2 separate regions of the Homo sapiens genome follow, and region 2 is linked to region 1. Evidence: promoter capture Hi-C in 16 types of primary human blood cells and fetal thymus (Javierre and others, 2016). All regions are on one chromosome and are shown on one strand. Each heading gives the region's core, a stretch centred on a gene start or on the middle of the fragment in contact. The rest is flanking DNA. Distances are from core to core; before and after follow the strand shown.

Evidence for each region. Contacts are between HindIII fragments. The CHiCAGO score rates a contact against its expected background, and 5 or more counts as called.
Region 2: a contact is called between a fragment that was not itself captured here and the fragment with the promoter of IGSF9B in region 1, in 7 of 17 cell types (total CD4 T cells, naive CD4 T cells, non-activated CD4 T cells and 4 more). The highest score is 10.9, in total CD4 T cells.

What each region holds. Positions count from the first base shown.
Region 1 is chr11:133,954,455-133,960,704 of GRCh38, reverse strand. IGSF9B (immunoglobulin superfamily member 9B) reads left to right here and starts at 3,737. Exons shown (of 20, transcript NM_001277285.4): 1 at 3,737-4,014. The coding sequence starts at 3,951. RefSeq lists a silencer at 3,559-3,908. The HindIII fragment of the contact is 2,603 bases long and covers 2,852-5,454 here.
Region 2 is chr11:134,075,490-134,081,358 of GRCh38, reverse strand. All of the region lies in intron 1 of JAM3 (junctional adhesion molecule 3), which reads right to left. Among named protein-coding and RNA genes, the nearest start is that of JAM3, 9.4 kb to the right of the region's middle. The HindIII fragment of the contact is 9,046 bases long and covers 1-5,869 here.

The DNA.
Region 1 (6,250 bases), core at 2,488-4,987:
CTGAGATTGCGCTACTGCACTCCAGCCTGGGTGACAGAGTAAGATTCCGTCTAAAAAAAAAAAAAAGTGACAGGGCCACTGTTCTATTGAGAGGTGGGGAACTGTGTCCTCTCCCTTTGAATTGGGGCAGGTTTTTGACCCTGATGGAAGTGATGCTAGGTGTCTTCCAAGGCTGGGATATGAAGGGTCATATGCCTTTCACCTGGTTCTACTGGGATGCCAGCTTTTGGAACCACCATGCTTTGAGGAAGCCCAGGCAGCCTGCAGAGAGGCCCACTTGAGGAAGAATCACAGCCCTTTGCTGGCAGCCCAGGCTAACAGCCAGCGTCAACCTGCTAGCCACGTGAGTAAGCCATCCTGAAAGGAGAAAGGTCCACACCCCAGTGGAGCTGATGCCACATGAAGTAGAGAAGAGCTGTCCTCACCAGCCAGTGTCCAAATTGCGGATTCAAGAGCAAATGAATGAGCCTTCTTGCTTTAAGCCATGATATTTTGGGCTGGGTTTTTACACGGTAAGACAACTGATACAGTTCCCTATTTATGTAAACACTAAACACGCTCTTTGGTGTTTGTGTTGAGTAAACTGCTTTTATTTAGAACTGCCTCTCCTTTTCACAAGCAGCTGTCCCAACAATTGTTCTACCCTAGATTCTGCAATGAGGGCTGGAACCACTGAGGAAGGTGAGAAGTGACAGACAAGTGAACTATTGTTTTTGAGTCCTCCTTGTTCGATGACTATGAGGAGGGAAGGAGGATAGTTTCCTCTTCTCCTACACTTGAAGCTCCTGTCAGCCCCCTTTCTCACATGTCCTCCAAAGGCCTCTGGGATGTGCAGGTAGGTGGCTACATTTGGTTTTTTTTCATAGACACACTGATAAGACTATTGTTTTGTATTTCCAAAAAGTCAGTACCTCTTAAAAGAAGATGACAGACACTCCCGTATCTGATATACATAGCATTCCTGGATATATTACTGCATTTATTAGTGACATCGATGACATTCAGGTACACCTAGGAGCTGCGCAGGGAAGTGGCTCATGTTCCTCCCTCATGTCCCTTTTGGACATCTGGGGTCCATGCTCCCCTTGAACACTCAACTGGATGTGTCTATTCTAGGAAGGGGCAACCATCCTTTCTGGGTCCAAAGCTCAGCCATACGCCAAGAGGAAAAGATTTGATCAGACTCACTCCTCACTGTAAGCTGATACAGTATATCTCTCTTTAGCTGATCTGAAACCCAGTTGAGACATGTCTAATGATGATGATGATGACGAACTTTTCCCTTTGTATCTTAATTTTCTTCCCCTTCCTCTCTGCCTTCATCCCTTGTTCCACTCTGTTTCCAGTAGAATTATCCAGAAGAAATTTGTTCTCCTCTTTAGATAGATCCTTCGAACCCCTTCCCAACCCAACTCATGTTCTAAAGCTTGTTACGTGTTTTTTTCTTTCCAATTTGACAGACACTTTTGTTGTTGTTTTTGTTTGTTTTTTAACAGGGTCTCATTCTGTCACCCAGGCTGGAGTGCAGTGGCATGATCACTGAGCCTAGAACTCCTGTGCTCAGGCAATACTCCTGCTTCAGCCTCCTGAGGAGCTGAGACTACTGGCATGAGCCTCCATGCCCGCCATCCATTCTGACAGACAGTTCTACTTTCCTAGCAGGAGGCAGAACCCTGAGTAGGACAAATGGATGGCCAGACAAAGCAATCAAGATGGGTGGTGAGAGTGGCTCCATCTTTTTCCTTGCCCTGCAGGCCCCTAGGAGAGGGTTTCTCTGAGACCTGATGTTTCCCACTCCATACCTAACAATGGTGAGGAACTAGGGCCAGGCTTTGTGGATCCGGCACTTTTCTCTAGGCCACAGTTAGCTGCTTAGAGGTTGTGGGAGGAGAAGGATCCTGTTATGACCAATTCTGCAAATGGATTCCAATATGTCTTTACAGTCCCGGGGCCCTGGGAAAGTGTGTAAGTGTGTGTGTATGTATATGTGTGTGTGTGTGTTGGGGGTGGAGTTATTCTGGGTCATGCCACCTGGAAATCACTGCATCAATGAGACCTGGAGATCACTGCATCAATGAGACCTGGAGCAGCTCACTTCATTGTCCCCAGAAAGGCATCTTTGCCCAAGAAGAGAACCAAAATCATGGCTCAGGGAGAGATGGCCCCAAGTTATGCATCTTGAGTGTGTTTGCACAGGTGGAGGGGTGGGTAGGGTAGAAGGTTATTCAACAGTCCTGGTTCTCTGGATCTATCCAGGCCCTCGACCTTTATCCATGTGCTCACTGACTGCTCTGTTGGGGGCCTCTTTCTGCCTCCCAGCTGGCGGTGAGCTAAGAGGCTTCCGGTGTCAGGGAATGCTCCACCTCCGGTGTTCAAGGCCACTTTTTGTGCATGTGTGTGTACCTGTGTGCACGCTTTCCCAGAAGCAAGTCTCCTTCTTGTTGTTTTGGGAGCTTCATGTCCTGGAGCCAGGGCTTTGTGGCTAACGAGTGCTTTGAGAGGATGAAATTCCTGAGCTCTCGCTCGCTGACCCTCTGCCTTCCTTCCTTGGCCAACAGCCCATCCCAGGGAGCGGTGTGATTCTTACCACTGCCTTCACTCCTTGAAAGAACAAACATCTTCACTGCAGCCTCTGAGCGCTGGTGTGAGGTGATTGTTTGTAGTAGATGTTTCCATGACACTCATTTATTTCTTCTGCAAATACAACTGTATTGGGGGAGGGGAAGCAGACAGGCTAGGGTAGGGAGACTGGAACATACGAAGACCTTCCAGTTTCCTATTTACATTCCTCTGTAGGATGAGAAGCTCCTTCCCTTTCCCTGGGTCTCCTCCATCCCAGACTCCTAAAGCTTCCCCCAAACCCATCTTGGTTTCATGCGGCCGAGTCGGGGCTGGGCTCCGAGTAAGGTGGAGAGGGGAGGAACCATGTGCGTGAGGAAGCAGCCTTTATCAGGAGAAGTGGGAAAAAGACCCAACTTTGACTGCTTGGAGTCGGGATTCAGTAATGATGAGCAGCAGTGACCAGCACTGGGGGTGGAGTGTGTGTGCACGAGTGTTCCTGAGGGGTCTGTGGCACTTCGCAGCTGAGCCAATGACTCACTCTAAATCTTAGCGACTTTGAGAGGTCATTTTAGTCATCCCCCGGTCTGCATCACGTTTGGAGGGGGTGGTGCGCTGCTCTGGGGACGTGTCTGGGTGCGGAGGGAGACGGGGTGGGGAGGCGGCGCGTGACCTCTTTGAAAAGATCTCCGGCGAAGGACGTTCCCCGGCTCTCCCGGGCCGCCGGCTCCTGGGTTTCCCCATCATAGAATCAGCATGGTCCTCTCGGGAACTGCTTTTTGCCGGATGGAAACCGGATGTTGGGTTCCATGAGTGGGCGGGGGCTCCACTTCCCTCAGACCTGTCCGGGGTAATTGAGACCCGCCAGGGTCCCGTTAGAAGCTACCATTTCCCTCACCAGAAACTTGCCACGCAGTGTGAGCCGAGAGAGAAGCGGGCAGAGACGCTATACCACCTTCTCCCCGGCAATGCGCATGATTCTGCGGCTCTGTGCTCGCCACACTTCAACGCACCTTGAAATGGGCTCGCCTCCTTCGCGCCGCGACGGGCGGAAGGCTGAGCCAATCGGACCCCCGGCTTGCGGGCGGCGCCCAATAGGCGGGCGGCGGGGGCGGTTCCGGAGGCCCGGCCCGGCTAGGCTTCACCGTGGACCTGGCTGCGCTCCGCCCGGGCGAGTAGTGCAGGTGCCGCTGCGCCGGGGCCGGGGAGGCGCGCGCCGAGCCGAGCGGAGCCTAGGAGGGATGGAGAGCTGGCCACCCGGGCTGCAGGAGCACCGGCGCGGGGCGTAGGCGGCGCGAGGCGGGCGCGAGGCGGGCGCTCGGGCGCGAGGCGCGTGCGGGCGCGGGAGCACTTTGCGATAGGATGAGGCTCCGGGCTGGCGCGGTAGTACTATGATTTGGTATGTGGCCACTTTCATAGCAAGTGTGATCGGCACCCGAGGGCTTGCGGCTGAAGGTGAGTTGAAGTGCGGCGTCCCTCCCCTGCCCCTCCCGGCGCCCTCGGCCCCTCGCGCCCGGCCCCTCGGTTTCCCGGCTCCTTGGCCCCCCGGTTCCCCAGCTCCCCGGCGCGCCTTCCCGCGGGTGAGGCTTGGGCTCCGACGCGGGCCAGGCGGCCCGGGAGCATTGCCGGGGAGGGCCTGGGGGCCGTGGGCTGGAGGGGCGGGCGGGAAGGGGCCAGAGCCCACGGGCTGCCGGGCACTCGGGGAAAGGACGCAGTGGAACCTGGGTCGACTTCGCCCACCACGGGCCCCACGGTGCACACCGGCGCGCCTAGCCCGTCGCCTCCTGCCCGGCGGCCGCCTCCCAGAGCTGCGGGAAACTCTGGCTGCGGGAGTTTGCGGTCTCCGGGCAGGCTGCAGCACGCTAGAGCCCCGCGCCGCGAGGAGCGCCTGCAGGGAGGCGCGACCCGGAGGATCCCTGGGACTGGCGGCACCCGCGTCTAAGGCCCCGGGTTCGCGCGGCCCTGCGGGCGTCCATCGCTCCGCTCGCGCCCCTCCTGCCCACACATCTTGGCAGCTGGAGGTCGGATCCCCCTAGCAGGGGCGCCCGGTGAGAGGAGGATTGATGAGGCCAGCTTCGAGGTGTGTCCGCTTTTGGCTGGACCCCGCCGGCCCCCGCGCCTCTCAGCCGCACCTGGGCCCCGGCCAGGCAAAAGTTCCCCGGGAGCGCGCCGCAGCCGCGCGGGCCCCACGCCGCCCTCCCCAGGCTGCGAGGCAGAGCTGGCTGGGGGCGGCGGCGGGGGAGGGGAGGGGCGGGGAAGGGGGGGTCCCCACGCTGTGAATCCGAGCGGAGGGGGGATTTTCTCTTTCCGCTTTCCTGGGTCTGAGCTGGGGGAGACGCAAGGGGGGAGCCACCGAGTTGGGTGATGCGTGCGTGAGCGCGCGGGCTTTTGCTTTGGAGATGGGCAGAGCGACCTACAAGCCTCTGGGTGGCACCCCCGGCTCTCGGCCCTTGTATGGAAGTGGGAGCGGAGCCTGGAGGGTGCCAGGACTGTGAGCTCAGGGCTGTCAGCGCGCAGACACGACCCGGCTGCGGGCAAGTTCACCAAGCCGGAGGAGATGGCGGCGGGAGAGAACCCGCTGTGGGTGGGAGTCAGCAGGCAGGACTCGCCGACAGAGAACCCTCTCCCAGCGGCATGGGGCGCCGGGTGGGCTGGAGGCGCCTCTCACGGGGTCCCCTCGTCACTCGTCTGTGCAGGGGGGCGTGCTTCAGGAAACTTTCCGGAATGGAATGAATATGTCGCCTCTGCTTCTGAGGGGGGTGGTGGTGTCTGAAAACAGAACGAGCAGAGGGCGAAGCGAAGGGTGATTTTGTTAACTGACATGTTGGTCCGGACGGTTTTAAAACTCTTCATTTGTCAGGTGGGAACACTGAGGCAAGGGTGATGGCGGAAGCTTACGGAACGGGGGGTGGATGTGAGGTGCATCGGGCTGCGCTTGACAGTCTGCCTGTAGCCTCATCCTCTCCCCCATTTCCTTGCCGTCTTCCAATGCCCGCATCCTCCTCCCCTCCCGTTTTTGGTATGTTCCTGCTATGGGACTGTCCCTGAAAGCACAAAAGGATGAGCTGGGATCTTTGAATAGAAAAGAGACGCTGAAGGAAGGCTCTGAAATAGCCTCCGAACCTAAGTCAGGGTGGGCAATGGACTTCTTTGCAAGTTTCAGCCCAGAATAAAGGAATGTGAGTTTATACTGCAGCAACACGCAGAATCGCAAGATAGAAGGAAGGGCTTCCCAAAATTGAAGGCTGCCTGGCATGAAGGTTATGCCCTCTTTCAGGGTGCAGAGGGGTCCTTCTGTCTGGAATGGCTGGACATGTACCCCTGTCTGGAAGCAGAGGGTGACCTTGCTGGTCTTGGGGTCTTTCTTAGCCTCAATTGCTCTGTGTGTGGTAGTTAAGGACCTAGGTCTAGAGCCATATGACTGGGATTCAGATTCTGGCTGTGTCACCTGCCGACCCTGTGACCTTGGACAAATTCTCAACCTCTCTAAATGTCACTTGCTTCAATAGAAAATGTGCCAATAGCATGTACTTTTAGGGTTTTTAGGTGGACATGAGTGTTATAAGGAAACAAAACAACTACCTGTTATATAGTACGTGCTCAGTAAACATTAACATTATTTTCTCAGTGTCCCTGGGATTCCAAGATCCTCCTCAATTTCTTTCCCTTGGGCCATTCAGGGCACTAGGAG
Region 2 (5,869 bases), core at 636-3,135, 120 kb before region 1:
GTGATGGGAGGGGTGGCTGTGAAGACCTCTGACATGCCCTGAAGACATTTTCCCCATTGTCTTGGGGATTAACATTTGGCTCCTTGTTACTTATGCAAATTTCTGCAGCCAGCTTGAATTTCTCTTCGGAAAACAAGATTTTCTTTAATATCACATTGTCCAGCTGCAAATTTTCTGAACTTTTATGCTCTGCTTCTCTTATAAAACTGAATGCCTTTAACAGCACCCAAGTCAACTCTTGAATGTTTTCCTGCTTAGAAATTTCTTCCGCTAGATACCCTAAATCACCTCTCTCAAGTTCAAAGTTGCACAAATCTCTAGGGCAGGGGCAAAATGCCACCAGACTCTTAGCTAAAATATACCAAGAGTCACCTTTACTCCAGTTCCCAACAAGTTCCTAATCTCCATCTGAGACCACCCCAGCCTGGACTTCATTATCCATATCAATATCAGCATTTTGGTAAAAACCATTCAACAAGTCTCTACCGAGTTCCAAACTTTCCCACATTTTCTTGTCTTCTTCTGAGCCCTCCAAACTGTTCCAACCTCTGCCTATTACCCAGTTCCAAAGTCTCTTCCACATTTTCAGGTATTTTCAGTAGCGCCCCACTCTACTGGTACCAGTTTACTCTTTTAATCTATTTTCATGCTGCTGATAAAGACATACCCGAGACTGGGCAATTTACAAAAGAAAGAGGTTTATTAGACTTAAACAGTTCCACGTGGTTGGGGAGGCCTCACAATCACGGCAGAAGGTAAAAGGCATGTCTCATATGGCGACAGACAAGAGAAGAGAGCTTGTGCAGGAAAACTCCCCTTTTTAAACCGATCAGATCTCAAGAGACTTACTAACGATCACAAGAACAGCATGGGAAAGACCCACCCCATGATTCAATTATCTCCCACTGGGTCCCTCCCACAACATGAGGAAATTATGGGAGCTACAAGATTTGGGTGGGGACACAGAGCCAAACCATATCATGCATAAAAGCACTTTTTGGAGGAGTCCATAGATTTCATCTTTTCCTATGAAGTAGTCAAAACCTAAGCTATTTCACTGACGTTACCCCAAGGTCTAAAACAGTGTCTGGCAAATAAAAGATTGAGAATTTTTCTTTACTCAGCTACTGCTTTAGTGATTCACAGCAAAGGTTCTAAGCTCATTCTTTATCACCAGTGGACTTATCAGCTAGACCAAGTATGGTCAGAGTGAAAACTTCATATCTGATGCTTAGAAATCAGATTGAATTAAAAATAACAACCCAACCAATTGGTTATTCATTTTTTCTTCATGGTAAACAAACACAGGAATTCTTAAAACACTAGATCTAGTAAGTAAAGCTGTAGATTTAAAAAACAAAAAAAAGAACAAAACAAAACAAACAAACAAAAACGAGGGTTCTGAATAAATTTTTCCAACCTCTCTCGATAGAGGAAGGCTTCAAACCAAGTTTACCTGGCTACAAAACACACCTAAATTTTCAGAAGAGGAAGATATTTCTGTTGACTACATTTTCAAAACCTTCAAATGCAATTATAATTAACAAATATGAACTAATTCAATTAATCAGTTACAAATTATATGCCTACAAAGTCACTCCTTTGGATCTAAAACTCATATATCTAAGGTGGGTTATATAATAAGAAAGGGAAAGAAATGTGGATGTTTTGGTGGTAGTGTGAGAGAGGTGGGGTTTAAATTACTTTCAAGTGATTTGGATTACAACCAATATTATTTCCCCAAGGTCTAAAAAATGAATCACATGCAAAGCTAGGAAATGAATCCAAAATGCCTAACACCCACGATACAGTGCTTTTTTTTTTCACCCAGAAAACTATCTGAAAGGCTGCAAACAACGGAGCCTTCCAGAGATGCAGTGGGTGGTTTTTGTCCACACATTACATCAGACGGCACCTTTCAGTAAACCAGCACTTCATCCTGTGGAGAACGGAATCCAGATTTCAGCTGGAAAGCTCGGTAAAGTTACCTTTGTATTTTGTCCCTGAATGTCTTCATCTATAGCTGTTACTAGTAGACTAAGTAGGTGCTGTTTCAGGTGGCTGTCTAGTGTGGAATAGCTATAATTCTCCAAAGTTTAAGTTAATGATAGATGTTTGCTTTTCAGACAAACTAATTCAAGGACAGAGATTATAGTTGTAGGGTTTGGTATATTTTTTAAATAACAGAGCGCCATCCTTAAAGCAGTGATTCTTAGGGAGAGGCATACAACCCCAACCCTCAAGAATATCAGAACTTCCTGGGGGTGTATGCGATGAAAAAAAAAGCAAATATTTAAGTTCATAATTCTGTTTTGTTTTGTAACAGAGTTTCGCTCTTACTGCCCAGGCTGGAGTACAATGGCGTGATCTTGGCTCACCACAACCTCCACCTCCCAGGTTCAAGCAATTCTCCTGCCTCAGCCTCCCAAGCAGCTGGGATTACAGGCGCATGTCACCATACCAGGCTAATTTTTTTATTTTTAGTAGAGACAGGGTTTCTCCATGTTGGTCAGGCTGGTCTCGAACTCCCGACCTCAGGTGATCCACCTGCCTTGGCCTCCCAAAGTGCTGGGATTACAGGCGTGAGCCACTGTGCTCGGCCCATAATTTTGTATTTAAAAAAGGAAAACAAAAACATTACCCTAATAACAAGAACACTTAAAGAAGGGTGTGTGACTCTTCCATTAAGAGAGGGGAAACAGGTGAAGTAAAGCTCCAATTCCTGTTTTCACAAGTGTAGCTGATTAGATGCCCTGGAGGGCCCTTCTGCTCCAACAACGAGATCTCACATAAGTCATAGTTTTTATTCCATGTCTCACAAGGAAGTCGGGGAAATCTTTAAAAGGACAAACCAATATAGCTGTAGGCTAAAACCAGAGAGCAGAAAGATGGGTAGGAGTGTTAAACTGAGAGCAAAGGGTCATTTTAACACTTCAGTGGGCCAGGTGCGGTGGCTCACACCTGTAATCCCAGCATTTTGGGAGATCAAGGCAGGTGGATCACCTGAGGTCAGGAGTTTGAGACTAGCCTGGCCAACATGGCGATACCCCGTCTCTACTAAAAATACAAAAATTAGCCGGGTGTGGTGGCACATGCCTGTAATCCCAGCTACTCAGGAGGCTGAGGCGGGAGAATCGCTTGAACTTGGAAGGTGGTGGTTGCAGTGGGCCGAGATCATGCCACTGCCCTCCAGCCTGGGCAACAGAGCGAGACTCCAGCTTAAAAACAAACAAATAAAAAAACACTCCAGTGGGGACACTGAGCCCTTGGACCAGCAGAAAGGTAGGCAAGAGGAAAGCAGAGCCTGAGATTTTTAAGTAATGCCAGGGATCCTGAAACAGCTAGTCACCCCAGAGACAGGCACTGTCACTCAGTGGAAGGCTGCACTCTCAAGAAAAAGCATCCTTGGCCGGGCGCGGTGCCTCACGCCTGTAATCTCAGCACTTTGGGAAGCCGAGGCGGGCGGATCACCTGTGGTCAGGAGTTCAAGACCAGCCTGGCCAACATGGTGAAACACTGTCTCTACTAAAAATACAAAAATTAGCCAGGCGTGGCATGGTGGCGGGCACCTGTAATCCCAGCTACTCAGGAGGCTGAGGCAGGAGAATCACTTGAGGTTGCAGTGATTTCCGAGCCGAGATTTCCACTGCATTCCAGCATGGGCGAAAGAGCAAAACTCCGTTTCAAAAAAAAAAAAAAAAAAAAAAAGGCGCCAGCCACGGTGGCTTGCACTTTAGGAGGCTGAGGCGAGTGGATCACCTGAGGTCCAGAGTTCGAGACCAGCTTGGCCAACATGGAGAAACCCTGTCTCTACTAAAAATACAAAAATTAGCTAGGCATGGTGGCAGGATCCTGTAACCCCAGCTACTCGGGAGGCTGAAGCAGGAGAATCACTTGAACCCAGGAGGCGGAGGTTGCAGTGAGCCGAGATCACGCCATTGCACTCCAGCCTGGGCAACAAAAGCGAAACTCTGTCTCAAGAAAAAAAAAAAAAAGGCATCCTTGACACACTAATATCCAGAATCTATAAGGAACTTAAGAAAAAAATAATCCCATTAAAAAGTGGGCAAGACATAAACAGATACTTCTCAAAAGACATGTATGTGGCCAACACACATACAAAAAAATGCTCAACATCGCTCATCATCAGAGAGATGCAAATCCAAACCACAACGAAATGCCATCTCACACCAGTCAGAATGGCTATTAAATAATCAAAAAACAGGCCGGGTGCAGTGCCTCATGCATGTAATCCCAGCACTTTAGGAGGCCAAGGTGGGCAGATCACCTAAGGTCAGGAGTTCGAGACCAGCCTGGCCAACATGGCAAAACCCTGTCTCTACTAAAAATACAAAAATTAGTCAGGCATGATGGCAGGAGCCTGTAATCCCAGTTACTTGGGAGGCTGAGGTAGAAGAATCGCTTGAACCCAAGAGGCAGAGGTTGCAGTGAGCCGAGATCGCACCACTGCACTCCAGCCTGGAAACAGAGCAAGACTCCATCTCAAAAAAAAAAAAAAAAAAAAGCAATAGATGTTAGTGAGATTGCAAAGAAAGCTATTTGGGAGGCTGAGGTCGAAGGACCACCTGAGACCAGGAGTTCAGTGTGGGCAATATAGTGAGACCTCGTCTCTAAAAAAATTAAATAAAATAAAAAATACTTCCCCCAGTGTGGTGGTGCACACCAATAGAAAAAAGAGAAAGTATCCTTAGGTTAGGCCTAGATTTTCACAGATTAATATCAATCAAATATCCATTTATAATACAAGCAAAGAAACCACCATATGTACAAGTCATAAGAAATAACAACAGATTTAGATCTCTAAGAACTTCAGATATTTGAAATATCACATATGGAATACAAAACAGCTGTGCACACAATGTTTTAAAAATTTGAAAAGGAGTAAGCCAGGTGCGGTGGCTCACACCTGTGATCCAGCACTTTGGGAGGCCGAGGCAGGCGGATCACCTGAGGTCGGGAATTCGAGACCAGCCTGATCAACATGGAGAAACCCCATCTCTACTAAAAATACAAAAATTAGCCAGGCGTGGTGGCGGCCGCCTGTAATCCCAGCTACTCCAGAGGCTGAGGCAGGAGAATTGCTTGACCCCGGGAGGTGGCAGTTGCGGTGAGCCGAGATTGCACCATTGTACTCCAGCCTGGGCAACAACAGCAAAACTCCATCTCAAAAAAAAAAAAAAAAAAAAGAAAGAAAAGAAAAGAAAAGGAGTAAAAAAATTAAGCAAGCAAAAAACAACTTGATTATAAAAAGAACCAAGAAAATTTTAGAAATGAATAATATAATTGGTGGAAAAACTGTGTATTGATTGGTTATCAATAATAAGTTAGATACAGCTGGAAGCAGAAAAAGTTAGCTGTAAAACAAAAATGAATAAAGAACCCAGAATAGCACAGAGAGACAAGAACATGAAAAAATGACAAAGGAGGTTAACAGTATTGAAGGACAGAATGACTAAACATGTTTAATTGCAGTCACAGAAAGAAAAAGTTAAGCAGGTACAAGCTAGGTGATATTTGAATGGATAAGAACTGAGAATTCTCAAGAAAGAAAGAAACTCACAGGTATACAAACCACAACATATAACAAGTAGAATAACTGAAAAGAAATTCAGGGAGGGCATGGTGGTGTATGCCCATAATCTCAGCACTTTGGGAGGCTAAGGCAGTAGGATCCCTTAAACTCAGGAGTTCAAGATCAGACTGGGGAACATAGTAAGACCTTGTTTCTACAAAAAAATGTTCAAAAAATTACCCAGGTGAGGCTCCAGAGCCCGTGAAACAAATGTCTTATTTATGCCACCCTGTTTGTGGTATTCTGTCATAGAAGCCCAAGCTCACTAAGACCCCA